4 separate regions of the Homo sapiens genome follow, and all the other regions are linked to region 4. The links are contacts of gene promoters, found by promoter capture Hi-C in human tissues and cell types (Jung and others, 2019). All regions are on one chromosome and are shown on one strand. The core of a region is centred on a gene start or on the middle of the fragment in contact, and the rest is flanking DNA. Distances in the headings are between cores, read along the strand shown. Region 1 has its middle 130 kb from the start of RPL10L. Region 2 has its middle 150 kb from the start of RPL10L. Region 3 overlaps MDGA2 (MAM domain containing glycosylphosphatidylinositol anchor 2). Region 4 holds the start of RPL10L (ribosomal protein L10 like).

What was found. The method cuts DNA at HindIII sites, captures the fragments that hold promoters and counts their contacts. A contact is called where the count stands out against the background at its distance.
Region 1: a contact is called between a fragment that was not itself captured here and the fragment with the promoter of RPL10L in region 4, in 2 of the 25 tissues and cell types used here (stomach and thymus).
Region 2: a contact is called between a fragment that was not itself captured here and the fragment with the promoter of RPL10L in region 4, in 2 of the 25 tissues and cell types used here (dorsolateral prefrontal cortex and pancreas).
Region 3: a fragment that was not itself captured here is called in contact with the fragment with the promoter of RPL10L in region 4 in 2 of the 25 tissues and cell types used here (dorsolateral prefrontal cortex and mesendoderm cells).

The regions. Positions count from the first base shown.
Region 1 is chr14:46,783,498-46,787,881 of GRCh38, forward strand. No RefSeq gene overlaps it. Among named protein-coding and RNA genes, the nearest start is that of RPL10L, 130 kb to the left of the region's middle. The HindIII fragment of the contact is 5,792 bases long and covers 42-4,384 here.
Region 2 is chr14:46,802,308-46,806,835 of GRCh38, forward strand. No RefSeq gene overlaps it. Among named protein-coding and RNA genes, the nearest start is that of RPL10L, 150 kb to the left of the region's middle. The HindIII fragment of the contact is 3,605 bases long and covers 1-3,318 here.
Region 3 is chr14:46,842,080-46,846,376 of GRCh38, forward strand. MDGA2 (MAM domain containing glycosylphosphatidylinositol anchor 2) reads right to left here. Exons shown (of 17, transcript NM_001113498.3): 16 at 3,687-3,792. Among named protein-coding and RNA genes, the nearest start is that of RPL10L, 190 kb to the left of the region's middle. The HindIII fragment of the contact is 8,716 bases long and covers 1-4,297 here.
Region 4 is chr14:46,649,444-46,654,034 of GRCh38, forward strand. It overlaps RPL10L (ribosomal protein L10 like), which reads right to left and starts at 2,338. Exons shown (of 1, transcript NM_080746.3): 1 at 1,567-2,338. The coding sequence starts at 2,293. The coding sequence ends at 1,649. All of the region lies in intron 3 of LOC105370481 (a long non-coding RNA gene), which reads right to left. The HindIII fragment of the contact is 6,030 bases long and covers 1-4,231 here.

The sequences.
Region 1 (4,384 bases), core at 1,688-4,187, 130 kb after region 4:
ATAATTATAAAAGAGATCAAGCAAAATTTTACTGGAAATATATCTTTTAAATGATTGAGGTATTTTTTTCTAGATCATTATCTATTGATATAATATTACTTCTTGCAAGCATCTGTCATAAAAAACTTTCTTAAGACTTAGAAATAGGCAAAAGAGATTACTGTCCGTTCTACCAAAGGAGAGATGTTGTTCTCTTGCCAATCATCCAGTTATTGTCTAGTTCCATGGTGGTGTATTACTTTGTATAGCTTTTATTAACTAGGTTATTTTACAGCTTTGTAGGGTCAGAAGTTAAAATTATTTTTTAAATGATGGCAATGCAAACAATTTGTGTCCAAAGTGGTGAAAAAGTATGTTTTCTCATAAAGAACATAAATATTTTTAGTCAAACTCTCAAGTGAAGAGTGTTACTGGCTCTCTCATTAATTAATGAGTTGAAAAAAATTGACAAGTGTTCATTTTATATTTGAGAGTCGTAATTTGACATTTTACAAGTTATAATTGCACAAATGGGACTAAGCTCACCATCAGTTCTATTCCTGTATATTTTTATAGATGTAATAACTTAGAAAACTCATTCACATTAAAGAAGAGATTTGTTAAATCAACATTTTTCTCTGTTTTAACTGCTTTAGAGTTGTCAAAAATAACATAGTAATCTATTATTATATTAACCAATTGTCATATTTATACAATTAATAAAGCCCATTTATTATTAAATTATCATTAGTGGTTGACTATCCAACAAAACTGATTCTCCAATACTGCTAAAAGCAAAGATTAAGAAACTACTAGATTTGCAAAATGTTCGTCACTCAGTAACTTGGCCATCTCAGAGATTTTGCACCTAGAGGAAACATATACACTATTCTTTCTTTTGCCTTGCCTTGATTCCTAAGGCATATAAATCCAGGAAATGGTACTGATAGAAAAGAAGAACTGGAAAATTATTTCCCTTCTTCTAATAAAGAAAAATCATTCAGAAATTTAGTTATTGGTATGTGTCCAAGTTTTTCACAATCTTACATTCAATGGATAAGAGCCATAGAAAAACAATTAAAATATTTACAATTAATAGATTATAATAATATAACATCAATTAATAAATAATGATATATTATTAATAGGGCATTCCACAAGGCAAGAGAAGCTTAATCATGTGTTTAATCATGATTAGATTAAACACACAAGAAATAATGGTTAAAGACCTGATAATTGAGACTTAATAAGCTGAGTGGGTAACTCTTTGACAGAGCATATCTTAATTACAAGAAAAGTTATCAGAAAATATTTAAAGACTTTGTTGGGAATGCTAATTTCTTCTAAGGATAAAACTGGGAAAAAATATTTTGGTCTATTCGTCTGGGACTATTTTTTTTTTTTTTTTTTACTTTCAGACACTTCTTAACAATTGTACTATGATTTTGAATGATGTTAACATTAGGGGAAGTAGTGTCAGAGATATAAGAGAAATCTCTGTGCTACTTTTGCAATTCTTCATAAGTCTAAAATTAGTTTAAATTAAAAAGCTATAAATGAAGTGTTTGTGTACCCTCAAGTTTATAGACAGTTACTACCACATGCAAAGCAAAGAAACAGTGAGAAGTAAATGAACATATAATTTCCATATAATTTCTCACACATAGAGAGTGCACAATAAATGTAAACAAATATATTACTAAAGTTGGGTATATATAATTGTTACACGGTTTGGTCATGTATCATATTTTTTGCTTAATTTTAACTCTTTCTTTTGTTATTTTATATTTTGACTTTTAATATAGAAAGTGAGAAATTTCCTTTTATGTTTTAGAATTGGTTGAGAGCAAATATTTTATCATAACACATATCATGATTAAACAAAATTCTGCCTTATTAAAACATTCCTAGAGTGGCCATGCATATATAAAATATACATAAAGTATAGATATTTTTCATACTGATTCTTCTTTCATATTTTCGCTTTTTAAAACTTTATTTCAACGTAACTATGCTTTCAGAAATACACTCATATTGGTTAATAGAGTAAAATTTAAGTTTAACTTATCCTACAAAATTTGGACCAAAAACTTGGTACATGGTTTAAGATTCTTAAAAAGGATTTGCAATCTGGTTTATTTTTGTCTATTACAAATGTATAAGAGATCCTCCATCAAATGCTGCTAAAGAAGGCAGCAAGAACCTTGAGAAATTTACCACTGGTTTGCCTCAGAAAAATAACAAGTAATATTCTGCATAAATTTGTAAAATTGGTACAACAAAAAATTGTTGTAATGTTTTAATGCCAGTTTAGAAAGTTCAATAACTAATGGGTATGGAAGGGACTGGGAGGGAACCTATATACACATGTGAAACTCTAAAAGCTATCTGATTTAGTTAATATTGCATGTAGATTGTAAATCTACACAAACCAAGATTCAGATAATTTCTTCAATCTGAGTTAACACTATCTGTTCACTTCAGCTGCTGAGGTCAGTCAGGAAACTGGGAACATTAACTGTAGATTTTCTGACTCATGCATAAAAGAAAATTAAGTTTCTTCCTCAGCTTTTCAGTCCAGAAATGACAGTATACTACAGGCAAAGTATTCCTTCCATTGTCAGCATTCATAGGGTGACATGTAATGAGGTCTACTTGGGTTTTAACTTGTATTAGCACTCATATGCAAAACAGTCTCCAAAGTTAATGACCACATGACTTTAGAAGTGACTATAAAAAATAAAATGGCCCTTCTTAGAAGACTAGAGCAAAACATCCAGCCATGGTTAAAGCCTTATTTTTAAAAATGCAGTCCCTTGTGAATTACACAATTAAAAAAAGTAGCCCCAAAATAAGAAGTAGCTCTGAAGAACAGAGGAAAAAATATAACTTAAAATATCTTCTCTTTTCTATTTTTTTTATTATACTTTAAGTTTTAGGGCACATGTTCACAACATGCAGGTTTGTTACATATGTATACATGTGCCATGTTGGTGTCCTGCACCCATTAACTCATCATTTAACATTAGGTATATCTCCTAATGCTATCCCTCCCCGCTCCACCCACCCCACAACAGGCCCTAGTGTGTGATGTTCCCCTTCTTGTGTCCATGTGTTCTCATTGTTCAATTCCCACCTATGAGTGGGAACATGTGGTGGTTTTTTGTCCTTGTGATAGTTTGCGAGAATGATGGTTTCCAGCTTCATCCATGTCCCTACAAAGGACTTGAACTCATCCTTTTTTATGGCTGCATAGTATTCCATGGTGTATATGTGCCACATTTTCTTAATCCAGTCTATCATTGTTGGACATTTGGGTGGGTTCCAAGTCTTTGCTATTGTGAATAGTGCCGCAATAAACATATGTGTGCATGTGTCTTTATAGCAGCATGTTTTATAATCCTTTGGGTATATACCAGTAATGGGATGGCTGGGTCAAATGGTATTGCTAGTTCTAGATCCCTGAGGAATTGCCACACTGACTTCCACAATGGGTGAACTAGTTTACAGTCCCACCAACAGTGTAAAAGTGTTCCTATTTCTCCACATCCTCTCTAGCACCTGTTGTTTCCTGACTTTTTAATGATCGCCATTCTAACTGGTGTGAGATGGTACCTCATCGTGGTTTTGATTTGCATTTCTCTGATGACCAGTGATGATAAGCATTTTTTCATGTGTCTGTTGGCTGCATAAATGTCTTCTTTTGAGAAGTGTCTGTTCATATCCTTTGCCCACTTGGAAGAATCAATATTGTGAAAATGGCCATACTGCCCAAGGCAATTTATAGATTCAATGCCATCCCCATCAAGCTACCACTTTCTTCACAGATTGGAAAAAACTACTTTAAAGTTCATATGGAATCAAAAAAGAGCCCACATTGCCAAGTCAATCCTAAGCCAAAAGAACAAAGGTGGAGGCACCACGCTACCTGACTTCAAACTATACTACAAGGCTACAGTAACCAAAACAGCATGGTACTGGCACCAAAACAGAGATATAGACCAATGGCACAGTACAGAGCCCTCAGAAATAATGCCACATATCTACAACTATCTGATCTTTGACAAACCTGACAAAACAAAACAAGAAATGGGGAAAGGATTCCCTATTTAATAAATGGTGCTGGGAAAACTGGCTTGTCATATGTAGAAAGCTGAACTGGATCCCTTCCTTACACCTTATACAAAAATTAATTCAAGATGGATTAAAGACTTAAATGTTAGACCTAAAACCATAAAAACCCTAGAAGAAAACCTAGGCAATACCATTCAGGACATAGGCATGGGCAAGGACTTCATGTCTAAAACACCAAAAGCAATGGCAACAAAAGCCAAAATTGACAAATGGGATCTAATTAAACCAAAGAGCTTCTGCACAGCAAAAAGAAACTACCATCAGAGTGAAC
Region 2 (4,528 bases), core at 266-2,765, 150 kb after region 4:
TCAAAAAGACACAAATCAACTTCTAGAGATGAAACTATATTTAAGATTAAACAATACACTTGATGGAACTAATAGAAGGTTATGTTTTGCAGAAAAAAAGTAACAAATTTAAAGACATAGCAATAGAAAGTATCCAAAAGGAAATGCATAGAAAAAACGAATAGACTATCATTGAGCTGTGGGCAACTTCAAGCAGACTAATATGTGTATAATTAAAGCAACTGAAGTCTCCACAAGAGGGCTGTGTGGTGGTTTTCAAATATAACCACAAATTCATTGATATTCCTTTTTTAATATATGGAGCCTTGTATTGATGCTCTTGAATGTGAAATGGACTTATGACTTGGTTCTAAAGAATAAAGTGACAATGATGGAGTGTGACTTTGGAGAGTAGGTCATAAGAGGTACCATAGCTTTCTTCTCAGTCATTCACATTTGAGAAGAAATTAGCTGCCATGTTGTAAAAATAGTCCTACCTGTTAAAAAACTAACGCCTTTTGCCAACAAGAATTGAGGAACTGAGGCATCCTGCCAACAGTCATGTGAGTGAGTTACCTTTAAACACATTCTTTAGTCCAGATAAGCCATTAGATGACAGCAGCCCTGTCCAACAAATGACTATAACCGCATGAGAGACTCTGATTCAGAACTATCCAGTAAGCTTCTTCTGAATTCCTACTCACAGAAACAATGATATAATATTCAGTTATTAAAGCTGCTAGTTTTTATTTAGGAATTTATAATATATTGGGAATTTATAATATATTTAGGAATTTATAATTGATATTGATATAGTATAACATGAATAACATGTTATACAGCAATAGATTACTAATACACATTTTTATGCCTAAAAGTGAGGAACTGCCACAAAATAACTCTATACTGTGACAATGACTATTAAACTGAACATTGGGAAGAAGCTGGGAACATTTGAGAGGGTTTATAAAAGCTGAAAAAGCCTAGAATAAAGTGTCTGTAGAAGCACCATGGACTTTTGGGAGGCTATAAGTGAGGACTTAAAGGAAAGTGGGAAAAATTTTAAATTGGAGGAGACTGGATACTTGTTACATGGTGGGAGTTAGAAATACTGTCCTCTCTAATAATATTTAACATAAAAAACACTCCTAATGAACTGGATTACCTAGCTAAGGACATTCCCACTCTCAGTGTTGAACGTGCTTTCTGGTGGCTTCTTACTGCTTACAGTAAAATGTGAGAGGAAAGAGATAAACAATGGAAATGCTCTAAAACAATAATAATTAGAGGTTTAATAGCATTGAAAATTATCAGACTTCCCAAAAAGCAAAACATGTTAAAAATCAAGCAATGGCTTCCAAGAAATGGTCAAATACAGTTCACTGTAAGAAAATCATTGTCTAAATATGAAACCAAAGGCATGAATGTAAAATGTGTTGTTAGGATCTCAGACATATCAATGGTCTTGCCTCAAACAAAAGATCCATTCAAGAATTTAATTAATCATCTCATGGATCCTTTCAAACAAATGATAGGTTTTCTAAGAAGCTTAAAGGCACTGTCCTTGCTGTCACAGTAGAAGTCCTATGTAGAGAAGACTTATCTTGAAGAAATTTGTGAGTATAAGTTTTGAGAATGAAGTGAACCCCAGTATTATTCATCTGGGACCTACGAAATTTGAAAACAATTACATTCACTAAACACTGTGAATTTACAATTAAGACATGAAGGTGGTAAAAAGCGAAAAGTTTTTGGATTCCCAAAATTTGACCAGCAGGAAGCAGCCTAAGTAAATTATGCACCAGCAAACATGGGTTACTTTTACAGAAAAGAAGGATGATTGAGAGGGAGAAACCAAGAGCCCAAAAAGCATAATAAAAAGCCCCAGAAGGCAAAGACAATTGTCAGGAAGCATTATTTCTTAGAAAGACTATCATGAGTTATAATCAAGGACCTTCTAACACTTGTTTGGATGACTTTCAAAATGAGCATGAATTAATGATTTTGTTATTTCCATTTTTCCCTTTGTGAACAGGAATGTCTATAATAGTTATTGTATATCTGTCCCACTACTGTGTGTGGAGAGTGGGTGGGCATCACGTCTGTTTATACCTTAGGTCATACTTCAGTAACTGTATCTAAGAAACTAAAGTGAGGCAGCAGCTTCTCCATATGGAACTGATATAAATGGCAAGATAAGGAACTTTTTGCTAGTTATATAATGGGATAAGACTTTGGAAACTTGGAAAGAAATGAATGTATTTTGCATATGATAGGATTATAAATAGTTTATCACCAGAAGCTAGCACTGTATATTGCAAAGATTTGTCTTTTCTTTATTAAATTATCTTGGCATATTTGTCAAAACTCAGTTGACTTTATATGTGTGGGTTTATAGTAGGTTACTCTATTCTGTCACACATATTTATGTATCCATACTTTTACCAATACTACACTGTCTTGATTAACACTGTTTTGAAGTAGTGTGTGCTCTCATTTTTTTCTTTTTCAAAATTGTCTTGACTATTATAGTTTTTTATTTTTCATGTAAATTTTAGAATCAGCTTGTAAATTTTTACAAAAGAAGTCCCCCTAAAATTTTGATTGTAATGCATTAAATTTGTACAAAAATTTAGTTTCTTAACAACTTCTCGAGAATGGTGAGTCTTCCTATCTTTGAACTTACAAATCTCTCCATTAATTTCAATCTTTTGGATTTCTTTCATGAATATTTTGTAGTTTTCAGCATAGAGATGTTTACATTTTTGGTGCTATGTATACTTATTTCATGTTTTTCCGTACTATTATAAATATTATTGCTTTTTCAATTTTAATTTCCAGTTGTTCATTGCTATTATGTAGAAATATAATTGATTGTCATATATATATCTTAAATATATTGACTTCATTAAGCTCACAATATTTGTAGTAACTAATTTTTGTATCTTTGGATTTCTCTATGCAGACAATTATTTTGCCTGTGCATAGAAACAGTTTATATCTTCCTTTCCAAATGTATGCCTTTTACTCCTTTTTCGTATTTTATTGTACAGTCCAGAGCCTCCAGGATAATGTTGAATAGGAGTGGAGCGATTGAATATTCTTTCCTTGTTTACTATTTTTGGGAGAAAGGGTTTCACTGTTATCTATAATGTGAGCTATAAGCTTTGTTTTTAATAGATAGCCTTTATCAGGTGAAGGAATTTATAATACGTTGATATTGACATTTTCTGCATTTAATGAAATTATTATTTTTTCCTTTTTTGTATGTTTAATTATATTGTTTTTCACATGTTGAATCAACTCTACATTTCCTATATAAACCCACTTGTCAGGATGTATTACACCTTTATACATTGCTAGATTGGACTTCCTGACATGTTGTTTGTAATCTTTGTGTCTAAGTCCATTATATACCCTGTAGTTATATTTTCTTATAATATATTTTTATCATTCTTGAATAATTTATTTTTGAACTTCATGTCTCTCTTCTAATGTTAGACTTATATTTAAGCTTTAACAGGGCAACACCTTTGCCAAAATCAAAAACTCCTTTAATCAGCAATGTGTCACTTATGTCATACAAAGTTGTTTAAAAGAAATAACCCGTAAGCTTTATAAATTCCAATTTTCATTACTTATTTAATACTAAAGATATGATTCTCTGTTGCTAGGGAATTCAGGGAATTCAATGTTATATTTTAGGAATACTAAGTAAGGAAAATGCTAAAAATAAAGCATTTTAACTAAGTGAGTAGGTTTTTAAAATTACTATTACTAGTTTACTTAAACACCAGCTCAGAGTGTTGTGATTATCAAATGCACTGACATGTAGTTTGGTATGTTATTCAGCATCCATTATCTCCTTCCTTGTTACTAACTTAGGGATTTTGTTTCATGTATATGTTGCCAGAGGGCTTAGGTGCGTCTCCAGGTACTGGTGAGATCACTAACCCCAGCGTGGTGTTCCAGGTTCTTGAAACTGCCCCAAGAAAGCATTCAGAGACAAGTTAGAATGAAGCAAAAGGCAAGAAGCGTTTATTGCAAACTGAAAGTACACACTCAAGAGTGGGAATGCAGGTGTATTTGGGAGAGTAAGTCATGCACAATGGAGTTTGGGTTTCTAATTTTATGGGCTCTTCTAATTAGGGAGTGGAATAATCATGAGGTTTTCTAGGGAAAAGGTGGAGATTTCTTACAATTGAGATGCCACTAATTCTTATACTCAATATAGGCATGCTCGGATCTGTCATGATACTGGTGGATGTGTGATTTAGTATGGTAATAAGCACATAATTAAGTCTGTGATATGGCATGGGTCAAACCCAACACTATGTTGGACCCAGCCAGTTTCAACTAGCTTAGGCCCCACCCTGTTTTGTTAGGATCATATCAGCCCAGAACTCATCGTCGTCCTTGTAGCTAATGTTAACAACTCCTTTCTTGCTGTTATGTGAAATTACTGCTGATATGTTTCCCACTTCTCCTGTGACCACCCAGCATTCCTATTTTATAGGTGTTTCTTTAATTAGGGGGTGGAATAGTCATT
Region 3 (4,297 bases), core at 1,664-4,163, 190 kb after region 4:
TACTAACACAACCTTGGTGAATAATAAAACAAGTATATGGAAAATATTTCTGGAAAATATTTATTTTTATTTTGTTTTATTTATCAGCTTCATTGCTAAGGGAAGTGAAAAGGAAAATGAATATATGGTTAAGGCACTTGATAAAAAGATTTACAGATTTTGAATTGATATAATATGCTATGAAAACTTGTTCATAACATATTCACATAGGTTTGTGGTTGAGCTCAATCTTAAGAGTTCTGCTAGCCACAGGAAAGCAGGAACATGGAGAAAATTATCAGAATACTTCAAAAAGTAGATTTTTTTTCAAGCTTCCCGAAGTGGATAAGCTTGAAGACTGAAAGAAAATCTATCTTAATGAAAACTAGAAAGGGATGGTTATGTGTACAGAAATTAACTATTGCAACTAGTAGATGATCCATGTTTAGATCGGTCCATTATCTATAAATTATACAAATAATTTTCTCTTTATTTTAACTTTTAGAGGCATGATGAAGTCCATTCAAACTAAAAAATCCCTTCCACCAATCGGCCTGGAAAGTCCTACTGTAATTGGGATTTCTGTTAAAACCTGGTGTCCAGTTGATGCCTCTTAGAATGCATGCCTTACTGTGGAGGGATAACACAGATATAATTCATTAAACTAGCTAAAGTTGCAAAGTGGCTTGTATCTAGGGGAGAATTGAGTTTGAAAATTGAGACATACAATCTTATATCTGCATGGTGTGGACCATAGTTCCATTTATTGCCTGGAAAGAACTGGCAGCCTGAGGAATCAGGAAGAGGCTTTCAGCCTTCAGGCTGGTCTGTACTTAGAATATAATATTCATTTAATAATCATCAATCAATCAAATGCTAGTCATAAAATGAACTTAATAAATGGTAATTAAATGACACAAATGTAACAGAAAACTTTCTGATGCCAAATAGATTATTTGTGTTCAATTAAGATTATTTATTTCCCCTAATTTATAGAGTTTAAATATAAATACACCCAATACATACAGGGGGTGTTTTCATATTTAAAACTGCCACACATTTCTTGGATTTGCTAGTTTAAGAGAAAAAAAAAACTAATTATAAAAATGTTCTATTGTAATAGAACTTGTACAGTAATGAAGTCCCTATGGGCTTTCACAGGCATTTACTGTGGCTAGTTTTATCAGTTATGCTTTCTTTCTGCACTAGGGAGTAAATAATTTCCTTTGCTTTCTTCCTTTGAAAAGTTTAATTCAATTTATTGAATTTATTTATAATATTTGTGCTTACATTATGAAAATGTAAAATTTCTGTATATAGTTGTAACTGCCTTCAATTAATAAAATGTTACTGCCACTCAGTCATACTATGAAATTCAAAAGAAATCCTATTCTCCTTTGAGGAGAATACATGTTTTCCTGTGCATTAGAAAAACTGTTCTTTTGAGTATAGCTACTGGTTTTCTAAAGCAGAACTAGACAGACACAAGGATACATTTTTACTAAATATGTTACTTGAAATACTAAGTTTATGACTTTTTAATATATTTTCATTTTATATAACAATGAGCAAAATGGCTCATTGTTATATAAAAATCTTAGTTTTTGTCTTTTGACAATACTTAAGAATTGAGTCAATTCAGTTCATATGAGTAATCAGTGGACAATTGTACACATTCAACTTTCAACATCTAGACTGGTACAGTTTCTCACTAAATATAGAAAATTACCAAAGACTCTGATTTGCTCTAGATTTATACAACATAGATTTTCATGCTTTTGTATGTGCTAAATAATTGATGAGTAATTTGTGTAAATTTAGTTTGATTACTTTCTCTATATATGACCACAAAATAAAAGATTCCAGATGAGTCTAAGATAATCCTTCAATTGCAGTCATTTTTAACAGGAATGATTTTAGATTTCATAGCTTCGAATGTGAAATATGGAGATGAGGACTTTAAGAAGCAGCTAAATACATAATTCTAAATCTTTGTGCATTATTCATCATGTTTTATTTATATCTCTTCTATTATAAAATGGACCTGTGACAAAAAAATAAAATTAAATATATCATTAAACCATAATACTCAAAAAAGGGTATAAAGTGAAAATCAAATTATTAAACAAGCTTGTGGTGCAGATAGGAGATTAGACCATAAATATGAGGTCTACTTCATTACTTAATATATGTATTTAGGCTCTTTACAATGCTGAATCTGTTAAAATGGCTGGCAAAAGGCCAGGCACAGTGGCTCACGCCTGTAATCCCAGCAGTTTGGGAGGCCGAGGCAGGTGGACCACCTGAGGTCGGGAGTTCGAGACCAGCCTGGCCAACATGGTGAAACCGCGTCTCTACTAAAAATACAAAAAATTAGCGGGGTGTGGTGCCGCGAGTCTGTAATCCCAGCTACTCAGGAGGCTGAGGCAAGAGAATCACTTGAACCCGGGAGGCGGAGATTGCAGTGAGCAGAGATTGCACTGTTGCACTCCAGCCTGGGCAACAAGAGCAAAACTCCGTCTCAAAAAAAAAAATTGGCTAAATCAGGAAATATATTCACTATATTCACAAACTGGACGAATGAAAGCATCTATGCTGACATGGTAAGGCTTTGTGTCCTCACACAAGTCTCATCTTGAAATATAATCTGCATAATCCCCATGTTTCAAGGGAGAGACCAAATCTCATCTTGAAATATAATCCGCATAATCCCCATGTTTCAAGTGAGAGACCAGGTGGAGGTAACTGAATCATGGGGGCTCTTCCCCTATGCTCTTCTCATGAAAGTGAGTTTTCACTAGATCTGATGATTTTTATTATTATTATTATTATTATGTTTTTGAGACAGACTCTTGCTCTGTCGCCCAGGCTGGAGTGCAGTGGCGTGATCTTGGCTCACTGCAAGCTCCGCCTCCCGCGTTCACGCCAATCTCCTGCCTCGGCCTCCCGAGTAGCTGGGACTACAGGGACTACACGCCCGGCTAATATTTTTTCTTTGTATTTTTAAATAGAGACGGGGTTTCACCGTCTTAGCCAGGATGGTCTTGATCTCCTGACCTTGTGATCCACCCGCCTCGGCCTCCCAAAGTGCTGGGATTACAGGCGTGAGCCACCGCGCCCGGCCGATCTGATGATTTTATAAGGGGCACTTCCCCCTTCTCTCAGCAATTCTCCTTGCTGCCTTGTGAAGAAGGTACTCTGCTTCCCCTTCACCTTCCGCCATGATTGTGAGTTTCCTTAGGCCTCCCAGCCTTGCTGAACTGTGAGTCAATTAAATCTCTTTCTTTTATAAATTACCCAGTGTTGGGCAGTTCTTTATAGCAGTATGAAGATTGACTAATACAATTTACATTGTAAATATGTGCTATGTATATAGGTTCATCAAATATTTTAATACAAGTTTTTAAATCTTCTAAAACAAATAATATCAAAGTGTTTTAAAATCTTAATTAAAAATCAAAGTGTACTTGCCTTACGTAGATCTAAATCAAAATCTCACTTCTATTTTATCTTAGGCCAAATATGTCTACAATTGAATTTAATACTTTAAAAATAACTGAACAAACTTTAGGGTATTACATATAAGAAATTTCTAAATAAACCAACTAAAAATAACTCCGTTTTTAAAATTAATTAAATTAAATGTTAATTTAATAGTAATGTTACTTTAACGTTACAACAAACCAATCTCAAGCAAAGATACTTACTCTTAGTTGCTAGGTCTTGTTTTGCACATTCTCCTTCTGCAATTGATACATCATCAATAGCAATGTCACCTTCTATTCCAGGACCTCGGATACCTTCAAAAATGAGCTACAAATATGAATGAAACAAACCTAAATGTGGAGCTTTGATTTGCAGATCAGTTTCTCTTGAGAAATCAAGGTGACAAAAATAAACTTGTCAGTAATCCTGGCATCTTTTATATTTGATGGCTTTCAAAATTAAAACTTGCAGAAAACATAAACTTTCATCCCAAAACCAGTAATTGAATCTTCCTTGCATTGTATTAGTTTTTCACATCAAAAGCTCTGTGTCGATTTTAAAGCAAAACTAAACTTAATTAAATAATACAATTAAAAAAAATGACTACACATCCTCTTTTAATTTTTAAGGATAAGAAAAAATGTTTTATTTGAAAAGTCTTTCTCTGAGATAGATTCTTTCTGGTTTTATCTGAACATAACTCATAACATTAGTTTTCTAGAAATATTTTAAAGAATGAATCAATTCTGAATTCTTTACAACAGTAATATGTATATTGAAGCCCGGAACAAAGTGTTTCTATCTCTGACATTGATTTCTCACAAATAGATTG
Region 4 (4,591 bases), core at 1,088-3,587:
TGGGGAAAATTAGTAGGAAGGATTTTTAACAAAAACAAGTAAAAGTGCTTGTATGTCAACGTTTAAAAAAAGAATTTATATATAATCTTTATAACGTGAAACTGTGGGAAAATTCAAATAAAAAATTTATTGACAGCTACCTACCAGTTTTTAATGCATTAATTCTTAATCATTCATTTCCTCTTCACTCCCATATCTATATGCATAAACAATTACTGTTACCAATCTCTTAGGGCAAGGAAGTTCATGAGCTTATACTTAACCTCTCTCCCTATATATTTAGTTGAGTGCAGAGTTCCAAGTTTGAAGGTCAAGATGTTTTGAGAGGTTTAAGACCAAAGAGAAAGGGAAATAATGAAGATGGAAAATATTTTCAAAGCTGGGCCATGGTTGTACTAGAAGCTAAGGGGTTGCTGATTTTATTGTGTTTTGTATTGCCTTTCTCTTTTGATTATTATTATTATTTAGAGGTTGAATTTTCGTTTTTGAAAGTGTGGTAAAACGCAAACATGAAAAACGTCTTAAAATAGCAACATAGCTTAAATATATACAAATAGGAAATATCTTATAGCAAGGGCCTAAAATAAATATCCAGCCAGATACAATATGTTAAGACTGACATAGCATTTCTTTAAATAAATGAAAATTAAATAGTAGTGTTTCTTACTATTTCTTTTGTTGTTTTCATTAAATGTGTTGACTTTGAAAAAGAACCGTTAGTCTAAAAACACTGAAGGCACTGTTAGCAGGATTGAGATTCAAAAGGCTAAGTCAATTGTAAAGAACAAGAATTTTTTTTAATGCAGTACAAACTCAGGAATTTTAGCTTATGTAGTTTCAAAAATAAAACAAAAAGCACCTGTGTCATCAACGTAACTCTAATTCAGGGCAAGCACCTACAATTGCAAACTCTCTTTAGGGTCCTTTTATAGCACAGATAACCGATTTAGTGTCATTTTCTCTCTTCTTTTGGTTCTACTGGAGCCCAGATACAAGTAATATGAACTCTGTTGTCACCTATGACCTTTCTATGATGAAAAAAAGATTAGACTGTTATCTCTTGACTGTGAGACAATGTAAAGTTCGTCTGGAAAAGCCTTTCAGAGTGATACTCAATTGTCCTAAGGCTGATAATCAGACGTGTAAGGTAATTCTAAAAACAATGTACAGAAATTTATAGAAAAACATAAGGCAACCAAGTTTAGAAATAAATTACTTCCAAAGAGGCTGTGGGTGAAATATCACTAATGCCTACTATTATTTTCATCGCTACTGTTTAGTTTATATTCTATAAACAAATTTTTTCACTCAAATCTATTTTTTATTCAAGGAATGATAGCTGCATAACTTATGACTTTACTACAAACAAAACTTTCAACATATTGCTCTATACTCTCCTAAATTTAAAGTGTTTGCTTAAAACAGCTTTCTCTATAAATTGTATAGTTTTACTGAAGCAAGGAAGGTAACATTTGCCATTAAAACTGAATAAATAGAAAAAAATTCTCTAGTAGTCTATATTCTAAAACATTGGATATTTAAAAAATATTAAAACTTAATAAGGAGTTATTTTTTGCCAGTAAACAGAATTTATTAGTAAGCATAAGTCAGACCAGCATGGCCCAAGGAGACAGTACTGCCAAAACCTTCATGAGTGCAGAACCCGCCACTTGTCCAAGGGGCCATGACTGGGAACGTACTTGACTCCACAACCATCAGGGATGAGGCACTTCTTGGCCACCATGTCTTCAAATTCGTCAGCATTAAACTTCGTGAAGCCCCACTTCTTGGAGATATGAATCTTCTGGCGTCCAGGGAACTTGAACTTGGCCCTGCGCAAGGCTTCAATCACATGCTCCTCGTTCTGAAGCTTGGTGCGGATGGACATGATGACTTGACCAATGTGGACCCGGGCTACAGTACCCTGGGGTTTTCCAAAGGCACCTCGCATACCTGTCTGGAGCCTGTCAGCCCCAGCACAGGACAACATCTTGTTGATGCGGATGACATGGAAGGGATGGAGCCGCACTCGCATGTGAAAGCCATCTCTGCCACAACTTTTCACCATGTATTTGTTGGCACAAATACGGGCGGCCTCCAGGGCTTCAGAAGACAGCTGCTCATATTCATCAGACACCATGTGGCCACCGAGTGGGAACTCATCCACTTTTGCCTTCTTTCTACCCAGGTCAAAGATGCGGATCTTGGCATCAGGAACCCCTCGGCAGAAACGAGATTTTGGGTACGGCTTGTTCTTACAATACCGGTAACAGCGAGCTGGACGGCGCCCCATGGCGACACAGTAACGTCGGCGGTGCCTCGAAGTCAAAATGCGCTCTCTTAACTACGCCTGCGCGCATTTATATACGTTGCCCCTCGTCCCTCGCGGGAACCATAGAGTCCTGAGGCCGGAACCATAGAGTCCTGAGGAGGATGTGACGACTCTCTTTCAGGACGTCCCAACCAGAGACGCAGGGACGTCTGGCGCCTCAGCGCCTGCGCCAAGTGGCGCGCTTAAGGTGAGCAGAGTCAGCTGTGGGTAGACTCCCCCTGGCGGCCAGGGAAGGAATTGGGCCCCGCCCCAACTGCACAGCTGCTGCTTCCTTTCTGCTAGCCATCTTGGGCTAGGAACTCTTGCTTTCAGCTTTGCTTTAAGTATAAAAGAGGTTATTTCCAGGCAGGAGAATCTCTTGAGCTCAGGAGTTCGAGGCCAGCCTGGGCAATATAGTGAAATGCTGTCTCTACAAAAAAAAAAATATATATATATCAAATAGCTGGGCATGGTGGCACATGCTTGTAGTCCCAGCTACTCAGGAGGCTGAGGTGGGAGGATCGCCTGGGCCCTGCAGGCAGAAACTGCAGTGAGCTGAGATAGCACCACTGCACTCCAGCTTGAGTGACAGAGGGAGACCCTGTCTAAAGAAAAAGAAAAAAAGAAATCCTAGAATTTGAGAGGAAAAATCCTTCCAGTTATTCAACATGCTGTTTCCAGTTTGGTCAGTTCATTTTCCAGAGCTTGTATCTCACTGTCAGCATTTGTAGATCAATTGCTGTTTCTTGGGTTATGTGGCCACCTTCCCTGGATAAAGTGGTTTCTTGGCATGAGTGCTTTGATGAGACTCAGGAAGAGATGAGAGGAAGAGAAGAGAGAGGGATAAAGAGAAGATATCTGTTGTATCTGTAGCTTGGCAATTGTTTTATAAACATGAAACTTTGTTTTTTCTTTATTTGGCCTAAAGAAATGATTTTATTATCAAAATGATATATACAAAATTGAAACACCAACTAGATTTTTTTTAACTTAAGGCTATTTGCATTTTCAAATGTTAAAGCTGCTGAAACTATATAAAAGAGTAACAGTTTGTGTTTTAGTAATCTTTTGCCCCTGAGAATAAATTTAAACTTTTTTTCTTCTCAGAGTTTGTAAAAATATTATGACAGGGATCAGAGTGTAGGAAAGGAGGAAGAAGAGAGAGGAAAAGAAATTAATAGTTTACAAACCCTACTTGCATTTTTCTAGTTTTCTTTTTTGTTTTAATGTTGTTTCACAAATCCATTACATCATGGAACAAAATCCCCCCAATGTGAATATATTCTGTCAATACTCTTTGTTTTAAGGGAGAAAAATAACTCCTGCCCTTAAAGTGAGTGGATTTTTACAAAATACTAAAGATAAAACAATTAAATCTCCCAATGTAGAAAACTTTCTGACCTTTAAGAAAGCTTTCTCACTTCCCTTTTCTTCCTTCATTTCTTCTTTCCCCTTTTTCTCAACTAGTTCCTGTTTAACATATTGAGATAAAGTAGCTAATACCATGTTGCTCTCACCAAGCTTACAAGCCTAGGAGAGGATATAGATACTTCTCATATATCATCATATTACCAAGTGTAAAATGTGCCAAAAAGGAAAAGCAAAGTAAGCCCTGAGACTGTGGGATGAGGCTGGGGATGAGACCTTGATCCAGACTGAGGAATAGACAGGAAAATCTTTATCAGAAAAGAAATTTCATGTAGTGACCATGGCACATGGGGTCTGATGTATAAAAGGCCTGAAGCAGGCAGAAATATGGAACATTTTAAGGAACTTAAAGTCAGGCCAATGTGACTGTGAGTGAGAAAATGAGTCACATAACATGAGCCCAGAGTGTGTGTATGTGTGAGAGAGAAGGGGTCATGCTTTCATACAGGGCCCATTTTACCAAGTTAGGGATCCTGATCTTTAATGTGAGGCCATTAAAGAGCTTTACTTAGGTTTCATCACTCTGGTTATGGTATGGTGAATAGACTGAAACCAGCCCAAAAAAGGTATGCAAGGAGATCAGAAAGGAAGACTTCGCAATACTGCAGAAAACACACTATAACTTGAACATACTTTAAAATATTTGACTTTATATACAAGTTAGTATCTTTTTTATACTACTACATGCTCTGAATCTATGATCGCGCCTCAGGGAGAGGTGTTTGTGAGGCAAAAGGAAGACGCCCAGAGTTTATGTGCCACGACACACTCACTTCCACTTGTCTGATCTCCCACCTGTCTAATGTTGCCAAAATGCTAGAATTATCTGACCAGCAGATGCTGTTTTGCTGT